Regions from separate parts of the Homo sapiens genome. Here all the other regions are linked to region 2. The links are contacts of gene promoters, found by promoter capture Hi-C in human tissues and cell types (Jung and others, 2019). All regions are on one chromosome and are shown on one strand. The core of a region is centred on a gene start or on the middle of the fragment in contact, and the rest is flanking DNA. Distances in the headings are between cores, read along the strand shown.

What was found. The method cuts DNA at HindIII sites, captures the fragments that hold promoters and counts their contacts. A contact is called where the count stands out against the background at its distance.
Region 1: a fragment that was not itself captured here is called in contact with the fragment with the promoter of KLHL7 in region 2 in 1 of the 25 tissues and cell types used here (dorsolateral prefrontal cortex).
Region 3: a contact is called between a fragment that was not itself captured here and the fragment with the promoter of KLHL7 in region 2, in 1 of the 25 tissues and cell types used here (lymphoblastoid cells).

The regions. Positions count from the first base shown.
Region 1 is chr7:22,550,930-22,555,219 of GRCh38, reverse strand. No RefSeq gene overlaps it. Among named protein-coding and RNA genes, the nearest start is that of STEAP1B-AS1, 10 kb to the left of the region's middle. The HindIII fragment of the contact is 3,432 bases long and covers 840-4,271 here.
Region 2 is chr7:23,103,412-23,107,729 of GRCh38, reverse strand. KLHL7 (kelch like family member 7) reads right to left here and starts at 1,945. Exons shown (of 11, transcript NM_001031710.3): 1 at 1,584-1,945. The coding sequence starts at 1,703. KLHL7-DT (KLHL7 divergent transcript) reads left to right here and starts at 2,027. Exons shown (of 3, transcript NR_046220.1): 1 at 2,027-2,171; 2 at 3,413-3,480; 3 at 4,152-4,318. RefSeq lists enhancers at 999-1,078, 784-1,770, 1,559-1,838, 1,959-2,148, 1,771-2,757. The HindIII fragment of the contact is 7,258 bases long and covers 1-4,318 here.
Region 3 is chr7:22,497,651-22,501,905 of GRCh38, reverse strand. STEAP1B (STEAP family member 1B) reads left to right here and starts at 1,718. Exons shown (of 5, transcript NM_001382447.1): 1 at 1,718-1,792. The HindIII fragment of the contact is 6,072 bases long and covers 1-4,255 here.

The DNA of each region.
Region 1 (4,290 bases), core at 1,306-3,805, 550 kb after region 2:
CTTGCCAGAATATTCCCTTGCCCCTCAAGGCCCCTAGGAAGGGTGAGGTCTACTAGGAGTGGAGGGTCGGGGGGGCATGAGACGTAGATGGAATGGGATAGTCCAGTCCCACATTTTCCTGACGTGAGGTCAAAGGGTGGAGCTGTCCTAGGCTCCTTGCTCATGATGGATGGACTCATGGTGCCCTGGAGCCCAAGGAGGGTGGGACACAGAATCCTAGACTCCCAGAATGGCAGGGCTGAGAGAGCCCACAGGAGTAAGCACCTTCCTTTACACACACCCAGGGAGGCCAGTGATGGACTAGAGGGACATACGATCTGAAGATTTCCTTGGAGTTTCTCATAATTAATTTAAGTTTCTGATGATGAGTCAAATATTGTTAGGGTTATGAAGAAATCAAAAGAAAAGGAGTGCTTCTGAAAATATCTTTAAATTTTCTCTTCCTGAGCAAAGTCAGTCTGCATCCAGCCTTTCCTGATGGCCCCCCATCCAGCTGATCCAATTCCGATGTTGTCTCCAGCTTCCTAAAGGTGTGACACAGGTCGTGCTAGTATAGCCGAGGGGCCACAAGGTACTTCCTCTCACTCCCCCTGGCTTCAAACGAGACTTCTCCTACCATTCCAGTCTTCAGTTCTTTGCCTTCACCACTGTGAGACTTTCTAAATGTCCTAGATAATAGCTAAAAGCAGGGGATTTTCCCACTCAATTTGATCCAGTGAGCCTAATTCCATGGCTGCGTAGTTGACCGAATAGTTGGCTGTGACCTCTCACTTACTGATATGGTTTGGCTGTTTGTTCCCACCCAAATCCCATCTCGTATTGTAATCCCGATGTGTCAGGGAGGGACCTGGTGGGAGGTGATTGGATCATGGGAGCAGTTTCCCCCATGCTGTTCTCATGATAGTGAAGGGAGTTCTCATGAGATCTGATGGTTTATAAGTGGCAGTTTCCCCTGTGCCCGCTCCTCTCTCCTGCCACCTAGTAAAGAAGGTACTTGCTTCTCCTTCTCCTTCTCCTTTTGCCATGATTATAGATTTCCTAGGCTTCTCCTGCCATGTGAACTGTGCGTCAGTTAAACCTCCTTTCTTTATATATTACCCAGTCTCCAATATGTCTTTATAGCAGCATGAAAACAGACTAATACACCCACCTTGTAAACCGATTGTCAATCCACCTCATCTGCCTATGGCTTGGGAACCTTATCTCCCTTAGAACCCGGAGCTCAGGGGCAGGGGGCCCATCAGCTGGGAGCTTAGCCATGTGGGTTGAGGTCATCTTAACCCATCCTGAATCTAAGGAAATCTAAGACCTGGGACTGGTAGTGAAGATCAGATGCTCTCAGGAGGTCATCCTGCCTGGTTCGTTTTCCCCCTTCTCTGTGCTTTTCAGAGACATGGGGCTGAGGCTGGGTAGCTCCATCACCCCTCGGACTCAAACTTTTGTTCTCAAATTTTGGTGAACCCAAGAAACACAGTGGGGGCTTTGCAGCAATGCAGATTACTGCACTTTTGGTGCTGCAATTTCCATGCCACACATCTGGGATGCGGCCCGGGAATGTGTCTATTTCAAAACTTATTTGTCCAACAAACATAAACTGAATATGTACTCTATGCCAAGCAATGGTCTAGCCCTAAGCATATATCCAAGAACAAAACAAAAATTCTTCACCCTCATGAAGCTTCCATTCTAGTGTCAGGGAAGGACGGAATAAGGATATCAGGTTAAAAGGTGAAAAATGTTATGGGAAAAACTGAGCACAGTGATGGGGATTGGGAGCAGGTGCAATTTTCAATGAGGCCGTGAGAGTAGGCCTGACTGAGAAGGTGATCTTGAAACAAGGTCTCAAAGGAGCGGGGAGCAAGCCTCACAGATACCTGGGTAGAGGCTCTGCGGTAGGGAGGGGGATAGCTCATTCTAGGAGCAGTGAGGACACCAGAGTGACTGATTAGAGTGACCCAGGGAAAAGCTGTAGGAGATGTGGCCAGAGAGGAAACACTGGGCCATTTCCAAGTCTGGTGGCCTTGTTGGCACTCCGGCATGAACTCTGAATGATTCAGAGCAGCTTTACCTGAGTTTGCCACCCTGAATCCAGTGCATCAGAGTCCTAGGGAGGGATATGTGTGAACCACATGTTTTAGCCTTCCCATGAGTAGCTTAACCCGGTCCCCATCCTGACACAATTTCTATTATGTTCAAGAGAATCACCAAGGCTACTGTGTTGAGGATAAACTATAATGGATCAAGGATGGCAATGAGGGGAACTTTAGGGGGCCATGGCAGTCACTCAGGGAGACAAATGGGAAGTCTGGAGTGGTGGTGAAAGGAGATGAGGAAGACTAAGAATCTGCAGGTGGTTCTCCAGGGGATTCCAAGTTGCTGCACCTGTACACTGGCTTAGAGCTCGTGGAAGCAAAATTTAGGGGTGGGTGCTGCTGCCAGCCTTGCCTAAGTTTCCCCTGCTGCATCCAGGGTGTCCTGGGGCAGAGTGAAGAGTGTGGGGATGAAGCAGCATGTTTAGCCCTAGCAGAACCCAGGAGCTTACCCCATGCCCAGGCCACCCACATGCTTACAGCAGAGTATTGCTGGCAATTCCTGGTCATGCTGGTGCATTTCCTCTTGGAGTCAGACATGTGGGTTCTGTGATGATTCTCTGAGTCCAGGATTTATCCAGCCCAATGGGTACCTCATTAGCACCCATGTTATTTTTGGGAAGAGGTAAAGTCAGGAACTGATTTAAAGATATCCAGACCCTCTGTTGCAGGTTGAATTGGGTCTCCCCCAAATTCCCAATACCTCAGAATGTGACCTTATTTGGAATAGTCTTTGCAGATTTAATTAGTTAAGATGAGGTCACACTGGAGTAGGGAGGGTCCCTACTCTGATATGACTGGTGTCTTCATATAAAGGGGAAATTTGGAGACAGCCATGCACACAGGGAGAACGCCATGCAAAACAGATAGGGCTGATGCATCTACACCAAGGAACACCAAAGATTGCTAGCAAACCGTGAGAAGCCAAGACAGAGGCTTGGAACAGATTCTCCCTCACAGCCCTCAAGGAAACAAACCTGCAGAGACTTTGATCTGAAACCCCTAACCTCTAGAACTGTGGGACCATAAATTTCTATTGGTTAAACCACCTGGTCTGTGGTACTTTGTTGCTAGGCAGTCCTAGCAAACTAATACGCTCTCATTATCTGAGACCAGAAACTCCCCGCATCCCCCACCATCTCCCTGCACTGGTTCCAGATCTGCTGGCTCTTGCAGATGGCAGCCTACCCATCTGAATGAGAGCAGGATGTGGTAGAAGGCTCCAGACTCCGCATCGCTGCTTCAGTGAGAAGGCTGTTCTGTGTTACTTAGAATAGGACTGCTGTGCTCTGGTATTTTGTCAACAGCATCTTTCAGGACCCTCTGGAGAACTCGGTGCTTACGCCCCCACTATGATGTTTTTAGAGATGTGTTTAGCCTATCATTCATGCTTGGCTTTCTTCTTTCACTATGTACATATGATGAGCTATAGAAGTATGCATTTGGCATGATGAAAGTAATTTGAGGTTTATCCATTTAAAGATATTTCCAGATGGGTCTCTGCAAGGCTGAGGCCACAATTAACTGACAACTGTCCGCTGGCTATAAAAATATCCAATGCATTCAGAAGTTTTTGAGGGTATTGCTGGTATTCATTCTCACTTCTCTCTCAATAAGAACACTCCCTCTCATCTGTGTATTAGAACTTTGTTCTACAGTAGCAGCTGCTCAGCATCCTTGGGAGGCCTGAAAGGAAGGTTGCAGCCACAGAGCCTTCTGACACTCGCCGACTACTCAGCACCCTTCGTGCTTTTGAAGCAGTGTGGCGGGAGCATTCTGCAAGGGGGTTTCTCTAGACCCTGGACCTGATGGGGTAAAATCAAAAGTGATGGTCAGACATGTCCACTAGAGCAGCTAGGGTTAAAGAGACTGGAGATAGCAAGTGATGCAGAGAAACTGGAACTCTTCTACATTACTGGTGGGAATGTAAAAGGGTTAGCCCTTTTGGAAAACAGTCTGGCAGTACCTCATGAAGTTAACCAGACATTTACCACATGCCCCAGCATTCCCACTCCTTAGGTGTTTACCAAAGACAAATAAAAACCTGTGTGTACAAAAATGTATAAAATTGTTCATAGCAACTTTATACGTAAAATTCAAAAACTGGAAACAACGCAAATGTCCACCAATTTGTGAATGGATAAACAACTTGTGGTATCTCCATACCCTGGAACAAGACAGAAGACACACAACAACGTGG
Region 2 (4,318 bases), core at 696-3,195:
GTTCACCAGGTAACCATTTTTTCCTTCCTACTCAGTAACAGAACCCTGATTTTTCAGTAATTGTACTTCTATTGTAACGGTAAATAAGTGATGTTAATATACTCCAAAGCTAAGAAATGTGAGTCACTTTTTAAATCCAAAGAGCTAAACGGACAGTCTCAGATAATCCTCTGCTCCTCAAGTAAATATTTGCTGCTGCAATCCAGTTTCACCCTATTTAGGGATTAAGGCAATGCTTTACAATGCTATGATCCACGAATGAAAACATATATTCGAGGGAGTGGGAGGGAACCTAATGAGTCTTCAACGAGTTTAAGCCCTGGTTAACTATGTTCAACTACCATTACAGGCAGGCAATAGCTAAATGCACCAGCAATTTGAAGTCTGTGGTATTGTAGATACAAAAAGGTTTACATGAAAGGAACATGAATTTGAAAATAGATACATGAAAGTCAGTTACATAAATTAACGAATTCAGGCATTCACAGTACTTCAGCACAAAGGCCAGGCCAGGAAAGATTTAAAAGCATTCCCACAGACTGCACTGGTGCACTGTAGCAGGAGCTGGTGAACAAAGACAAAATCCCAGCAGTCAGCGTTTGCTTATAGAAACCAGAAGTTAATATCTTCATAAAAATCTTAAATTCCTCTACTGTTGCCCATATTCCCAGCAGAACCACCAGACAAAGCAAACTAGGTTTTGCAGTTACACATAACTCACATCCTGCTTTGTCCCCTTGAAACAGGATCCCAGTCAACAAAACCCAAACATTCCCACAAATCTACTTAGATGTGTATTATCTATAAATAAAGCTTACAGAAAGGAAAAAGTGACTTTCTATGCTTATCGGTGTAGATGTTATGGAATTAAAAAAAAAAAAAGCCTCTTTGTTTCACCTTCGCCAGCGTTAAAATCCGTTCTTTTCATAACCCACCTTTCGCCGATGTGCTGCAGAATTTCACGAATGCACCACACACCAAGGACAGAACAAAGAGCTCCTCTTAATAACAGAGGCGCACAGTGCCCTTAGAAGATGGCATGGTATTTATCGATGGCTGCTTCTGCTCTAAATTAGCACGAACAGGAGGACTCCTCTTCAACTAGCTCCACCGGGGAACACAGGAGGGGGCGGGGATCCTTATTTAAGAGCAGCTGATGTCAGGCCAGCAACTCTCCTCCCTTTGGGGGCTTCGGTTTGGGCTATGCCAACGGGTTTCTTCACACAAGATCTCACGGCACCTTAAAACGGCTCGCCAATGGAAGGATCCTCGCCCCACAAAGAGATAACTAGGGCAGAGCTGTTACACAACCGATACCCGACGGCGAAAGCCAGCCTGAGGAGTCCCCCAGGAGTCTGACTTGGGAGCTACATCCTCGGCAGACGAGAAGCACTTTTGCTCGAGAATTGTTTTACGCGCCCCTCTACCAACTGCGGAATCGCTCGCCTGCGAAAACGGAAGGAGGGGCGAGGACAGAGAAAGAGGGGCGCGATCCACAGGGCGCGGGGTTCCACCCCGGGAACCAGGGGCCCGAGCCCCGGACCACCTCCCACCGTCGTCCGTCACTCCCACAGAGGCGGTACCTGTTTCCGCATGTTATTCATGACGCCCATGAAACCCGCCAACAATTTAGCTTCTTCCCGAGCAGCAAGTTTCTTCTCGGTCTTCTTCTTGCTGCTCTTCTCCACCCCAGAGGCTGCCATCCTCCCTCAGCTCGGTTCACGCCCGGGGCTCGCCGGGCCGGGCGAGGGGTCGCACTCTCTGGGCACACTGGGGATTCTATCGACCAAACACGGCGATCGGCAGTGCAGCTGCAGCGCCCAGCTCTGGAACGCGCGGCAGGCGGCGGTGGCTCGGCCACTGCCGAAAGACAAGGCCGGGCGGCCCCCTTAGAAACGCTCAGGGAGCGACGCTACCAACTGGGCTGCGTCCCCGGGCAGAACCCGAGCCCTGCCCAGGAGCCTGCGCACTTCGCGCAAGGAGGCGGGGGCACTATGAGGAGAGTCAGGGGCGGGGCCTGACACGTCACAGTGGCGCGCCGTTCCGAGCAATGAGACTGCAGGCACAGGTGCGGCCGGATTCCCTGTCGCTGTCCCGCGCTGAGTGAATTTTGCCTCGGAGCTGGTCCGAGGTCGCGCCTGCTCTTTTGTGTGCCCAAGGCAGATTTCCAGGTTTCGGTTACGTGATTATCTTTTTTTTTTTTTTTTTTTTGATAATTGGGTTGTGGAACATGCAAAGGTGTCTCCCATCAGTGTAAGGCTTCATGGGACAGGGTCGGTGTTCAGTGCAGTATCTGAGCCTGGTGTATGGTAGGCGCTCAATAAATATTAAATGATGAAAGGATATTACTGCAAGTTAAAGTCATGTTACACGGAGCACAAGATTTATTTTCGTGGGATTCATAACGCAAGAGCACACAGTCCCGTTGGTGTCTCCTTGGCGTGCAATGAATGTCTGCCTAACTAGGCTGGCTTACTGTGTGTTTACAACTGAAATCAGTTGTCAGTCGGTTCTAGAAATCTTCAGTTAGGCTTCTCTAAGTGTTTTACGGGAACACGGAACTCAATCACAGCCCTCATGGAAATGTTTTTTGTAACCATATTCTTTCTACTGTATAGTAATATACAGGATTATTTGAAATTGTACATTATTTAACATTATGAAAACTTTATATCTCATTGGTTTTCCTCCTCGGTCTATATAGGACTATACAGAGACATTTTATGTAAAATAATTTACACCATTGAGGCTTTTTTTTTTTTTTTTGGAGGCAGGGTCTCGGCCCTGTCGCCCAGGCTGGGGGTGCGGTGCAGTGGCTAATCATAGCTCACTGAAGCCTCAGCACTCCTGGGCTCAAGCAATCCTCCCATCTCAGCCTCCCAAGTAGCTGAAACTACAGGCGTGCAACACCACTCTGGGCTAAGTTTTAATTTTTAAATTTTTTTGGTGGTGGTGGTGGTGGTGGTGGTGGTGGTGAAGAGGTCACACTATGTTGCCCAGGCTTGTCTCGAACTCCTGGTGTTATGCAATCCTCCCGCCTAGGCCTCCCAAAGTGCTGGGATTACAGGAATGAGCGGCCAGGCCTGGCCCACAGTATACTTTTCTTGTTGAGGACAAACCATATAGCATAATCCAGATGAAAGAGCAAGCTATATATACGCCTCAATTTTTACAAAAGAGTAAGATACTTATGTCTCTGTACTCTTTATCTTTCTTCTATTAATCTAGAGGTTCTCAGATGTGCCTCTATTTTAACTAGTTGATTTGGGGATTTCAGGTGAACCCTGGCAATAGGAATAATTTATTGTTAATAAAATTATAAATGAGAAAATTTTTCATTCACTTTATTAAATGACCCAGGACACTGAAGAAAAACGGAATAAATTTTTTTCTTTTTTTTTTAATTGAAAAGAAGTAGAAATCTGTCTTCTAACTCTAAGGCCTTGGGAGATGAAGGATCCGTGATTCAAAGGCAGAAATGTAAGTGATGAAAAAGAATGCTGTCCTGTAATAAGGCAAAAAAGAAACGAGGAACAGCATCCTTAGTCCTTGATGTTAGAACAGTCTTTTTACATATTGCTGAATATAAAACATCAAAGTTCATGGAAGAGCCATAGGATTCAGAGCTCAAAGAGGCCACAGAGATTATATAGTACAGGGATTAAGCATGAGACTTTGCCTGGATGCAAAGTCAAACATCTCAACTTTCTAGTTGTGCAACTTTGGGCAAATTGATTAACTTCTGTTATGCCTCAGTCTCCTTATCTGTGAAAGTAGAACCTACTACATGGAACTGGCGTAAGGTTTATAAAAATGCTTAGAGGGGTGCCAGCACAAGACACTTAAAATTACTTTACTGAGTTAATAATACACACATACTTCAGAGATATTTTGGGTTCTGTTCCAGACCACCACATAAAGTAAATATCGCAGTAAAGTGAATCACACAAATTTTTTGGTTTCCCAAAACATATGCAAGTTATGTTTACACTATACTGTGGTCTATTAAGTGTGCAATAATATTATGTCTGCAAAAGCAATGCACATACCTTAAAAAGTGCTTTGTTGCCAAAAAGTTGCTAATGATCATCTAAGCCTTTGCAAGTTGCAAGTTTTAAATTTATTTTTATTTTTATTTCTTTTTTTTTAAGAGATGGAGTCTTGCTGTGTTCTCCAGGATTGAGTACAGTGGCTTATTCACAGATGTGATCATACTACACTACAGCCTCAAACTCCCGGGGTCAAGCAGTCCTCCTGCTTCAGCCTCCTGAGGAGCTGGGACTACAGGCCCACATCACCATGCCCACTAGATTCACAG
Region 3 (4,255 bases), core at 49-2,548, 610 kb after region 2:
AGGAAAAGCAGTTTTAAGTGCAGCTTGCTATATAGCCATATTCATATCAATATATATTATTATGTTAACACAATAATAACTCTTTGCCCTTTTCATATGGAAAATATATTGTGAAAAAGAGAATGACCTTTGTTCTACCAAATGTTAAACAATAAAAGCATATCGTTTTGTCTGACCATTTAAGACCCATGATCACTTTTAAAACTCAACAATGCTTGGTTAAATAGTCTTAATTCTTTGTAGTCTGTGCTACACATACAAAGATTACACAGATTTCTTTTCTAAAACTTTAAAATTATTTTCTAGTTTCACTAGAAACAACAGGTGTAAGATTCTATTTCCACCACAAGGTGTCAGTCCACGGTAATTTAATCTTCAAAGGGCTTTAAACTAATCCATGGAAAGTCAGTGACTACAGAAAATGCTTATATTAAAACATGAACAGTCTTCGGTGCCCTAGCTGTGAATAAAAAACAATCATGGAAAATGTGGTTGCGCGTTTATTTTCCTTTGTGTTTTCTACTCAGCTTAGTCCTGAGAATGTTGTATACCAAATCCCCAGAATTTTGCAATTCATGTCTCAGACCCTATCTCGAGGCTGGTTCCAACGGAGAGAAGTAAATCCCCTGCTCAAGTTGTCTTTTTCTAAAACCTTGGAATATTAACAGTTAACTTTACTTTAGGTTTGGAATACTTCATTGAGCTAGGATATGGGAAGCTGCACTTAAAAGCTGAGGCAAGGAAGGGAGGGACGGAGTAAACATGGGGTTTAAGGGTTTTTTTTTTCGGCTGGGGAGCAGGGTTTGTGCGATTAAAGGTACACAATTTGAACAATTCAGGGAGCAAGTCACTCTCAGAAATTCAGCTTCGGATTCCTCAAACTGTCAATCACAGCCACTTCAGGACCGGCTGTTAGGTTTTAAATAAGGTGGCTGGGCGCGGTGGCTCACGCCTGTAATCTCAGCACTTTGGGAGGCCGAGGCGGGTGGATCACGAGGTCAGGAGTTCAGGACCAGCCTGGCCAAGATGGTGAAACCCCCGTCTCTACTAAAAATACAAAAATTAGCCGGGCACAGTGGCAGGCGCCTGTAATCCCAGCTACTCGGGAGGCTGAGGCAGGAGAATCGCTTGAACCCGGGGCCGGAGGTTGCAGTTAGCCAAGATCGCGCCACCGCACTCCAGCCTGGGCAACAGACTGAGACTCCGTCTCAAAAAAAAATAAAATAAAATAAAAATAAATAAGCTAACGTGTGGGAGGGTTTGTAAGCTCTAAACGGTCTATCTCAAAGTGTGATCTGGGAATGCTTCCATATCTCATGGGAACTTGTTAGAAATGAGAATCTCAGACCTCATCCCAGACATACTGAACCGGAAACTGTGGGTGGACAGCCCAACAATCGGTGTTTTAATATGCCCCCGGGTAATCTTATACACGCTGAAGTCTGAGAACCACTGCTCTAGAGAAATGCACAAACGTTCCTTAGTGGAGATTAAACAAAAGGCGAGGGGTTGGAGGGCGCGAAACGGACCTCAAGGGCAGGGCAGACGGCATTTGAGAGGAAACTGGGAGAGGCCGGAGTGCGACTTGGGGAGTCTTAGCCTCCAAGGACGTTCCCGAACCCTGCGGACGCGGGGCGCCAGCAGGTGGCGCTGGACGCGCAACTGACAAGGAGGCGGGGCCTGCAGCAGGCTTGGAGGCTTCGCGCTCTGGAGGCTCAGGCGCCGCGTGGGGCCGGCACCTCCCGGCAGCAGCGGCAGCTGAGACTCACGGTCAAGCTACGGCGAGGAGTGGGTGAGTCCCTTGAATCGTTCTCACTGGCCGTTTGCTCCTCGAGTCCGCCTGCGTGTCCCTGCAAGGCTGGGCGCCCGCTCCCAGTCTTGGGAGGGGTGTAGCGGGTCGCAAGCCTTCTCGTGACCTGGACGGCGGCCCTCCTGGGCGAGCGGTGCTCAATTCTTCGCTTATGCGCGGCTCTGGGGCGCCCTGTCTTCCAGCCCAGCTGGGTTGTGGCCGGGCCGGGGGCTGGGGGGAGCCAGGGACTCAGAGGAAGCCTTTTCGCTAGGGGCTTAAGGTTGTGGTAGATTATTAAGTTTGTGCTCAGGTTGGATTTTGATGGCAAGTTTTTTAACGTGGCAAAGTCGCCAGAGTTTGCTGTGCATTGACGAATGACTGGTGCACAGTACTTAAAATCGTGCTACTTCTCGTCTTCGGGTTTCCTGGTAACAGAGGTTTTCATTTTCAGTCCTTAGAACACTGGCCCTACTCTTTCAGGATCTGGGTGGGGTTCAGGTTCCCTCCAAAATAGTCAATCAAGGCTTTAAATATGTAATTCTGGTCAAATCCACTGGAAGGAGTTTGTAGACATAAATTTTTTGTACACTTCCAAATTTCTTACTTTGTTACTTTTGTAAAATACATTTCCCTCCACATCCTGACGTGTAATAAAAGGTTATTCATTTAACATGAATGTTAAGCACAGAGGGAAAGCAATGCTTAAAAAGAAAAACAGCACAGTGAAAAAAAAACCCAAAAAACTCGACTTCACTTAGTTAAATGTAAAACAAGTGTGCACTTGAAAGTATAAAAGGTTGGAAATGCAGTGCAACCCACAATGTATTCCAGGCATTGGGTTTCTTCATATTCTCAACTGCGGGACATAAACATGAGTCAGTTGGGCTGTGCCAACATTTAGGAACACCAGGGCAGCCATCTTGGTACAGCAAAACAGCAGTCGCATTAGAAATGTGCTCCACTTTTTTAAAAGCGGGTGAAAGAGAACTTTGGGTCGAATTCTGGGGTTCCTAACATTTTAACACTAGGTTGTTTTCTGTTATTTTTCTTTTTATGAAAAGATTTTACTGTAGAACTTAAATTACATTTTGGTTAATGTCTGATGAAAACCAACAAATTTATTTGACTCATAGTTTATTTTCCTGGCTTATGGGCATAGAGTTGAGTGTGGGCCACACAGTCAACAAGCTTCCTCACTGTCATGGGCTTTTCCTTGGCTTCGCTCTTGAGTGTGGTCTCCTTACCATGCAGACAAATGGCTGGGTAACTCTCCAGGGCCACTCTGGTTTTCCACCCAGACTCTTTGTAGTGGCAATCAGTCAGCAAACACTGCCAACCTGCTAGCTACCCCAGGACTGGGTCTAGAAGACAGCGCTGAGCCTTTTCCTCTACTTCCCTTCCCATGCCACCATCTGCCTATAAAACTTTATCCTCTTCTAGGATACATCGCTCTACCATGCAGTTGAAATGCCTGCCTTCTCTCCTAGACCTCAAGGTTTTTCAGAGCAGAGGCTTTATCTCATTTAACTTTGCATTCCTCCTGCCTTACATTGTTGTTCACAATATAGTTACTGAATTCATACTGAATAAATGTGGGTGGATTTGTTAGCATCCTTACCATCCTGCACCTCTCAAAGTTAAAAGATCTTCTAAACATAGTGGATTATTTCTTACATTTGATTATAGTAGGTGACACTTCCATTCCTAGCACCTCCCTCCCCCACCCCACAAACTATTAAGTTGGTGATATGGTTTGGAGCTGTGTCTCCCCCTCAGATCTCATGTTGAAATGTAACCCCCAGTGCGGGAGCTGGGGTCTGGTGGGAGGTGATCGGACCATGGGAGCAGTTTCTCATGGTTTAACACCATCCCCCCTTGGTGCTGTTGTCACGTTAGTGCAGGGGTCCCCAACCCCCTGGCCGCAGACTGGTATCAGTCAGTGTCCTGTTAGGAACTGGGCTGCACAGCAGGAGGGGAGTGGCAGGCCAGCGAGCATTACTGCCTGAGCTCCACCTCCTGTCAGATGAACGGTGGCATTAGATTCTCCTAAGTACATGAACCCTATTGCAAACTGCACATGCAAGGGACCTAGGTTGTGTGCTCCTTATGAGAATCTAACTATTGCCTGATGATCTGAGGTGGAACAGTTTCACCTCAAAACCCTATCCCCCTTCCCCTACTTGGAAAAATTGTCTTCCACGAAACCAGTCCCTGGTGCCAAAAAGGTTGGGGACCACTGCAATAATGTAAGACGCCTGCTCCCACTTCACCTTCCACCATGACTATAAGCCCTCTGAGGCCTCCCCAGAAGCAGATGTTGCCATGCTTCCTTTACAGCCTATGGAACCATGAGCCAATTAAATCTCCTTTCTTTATAATAATTACCCAGTCTCAGGTATTTCTTTATAGCAGTGCGAGAACAGCCTAATACAGTTGGTTAAGTCACCAAATGACTTGGAATAATGC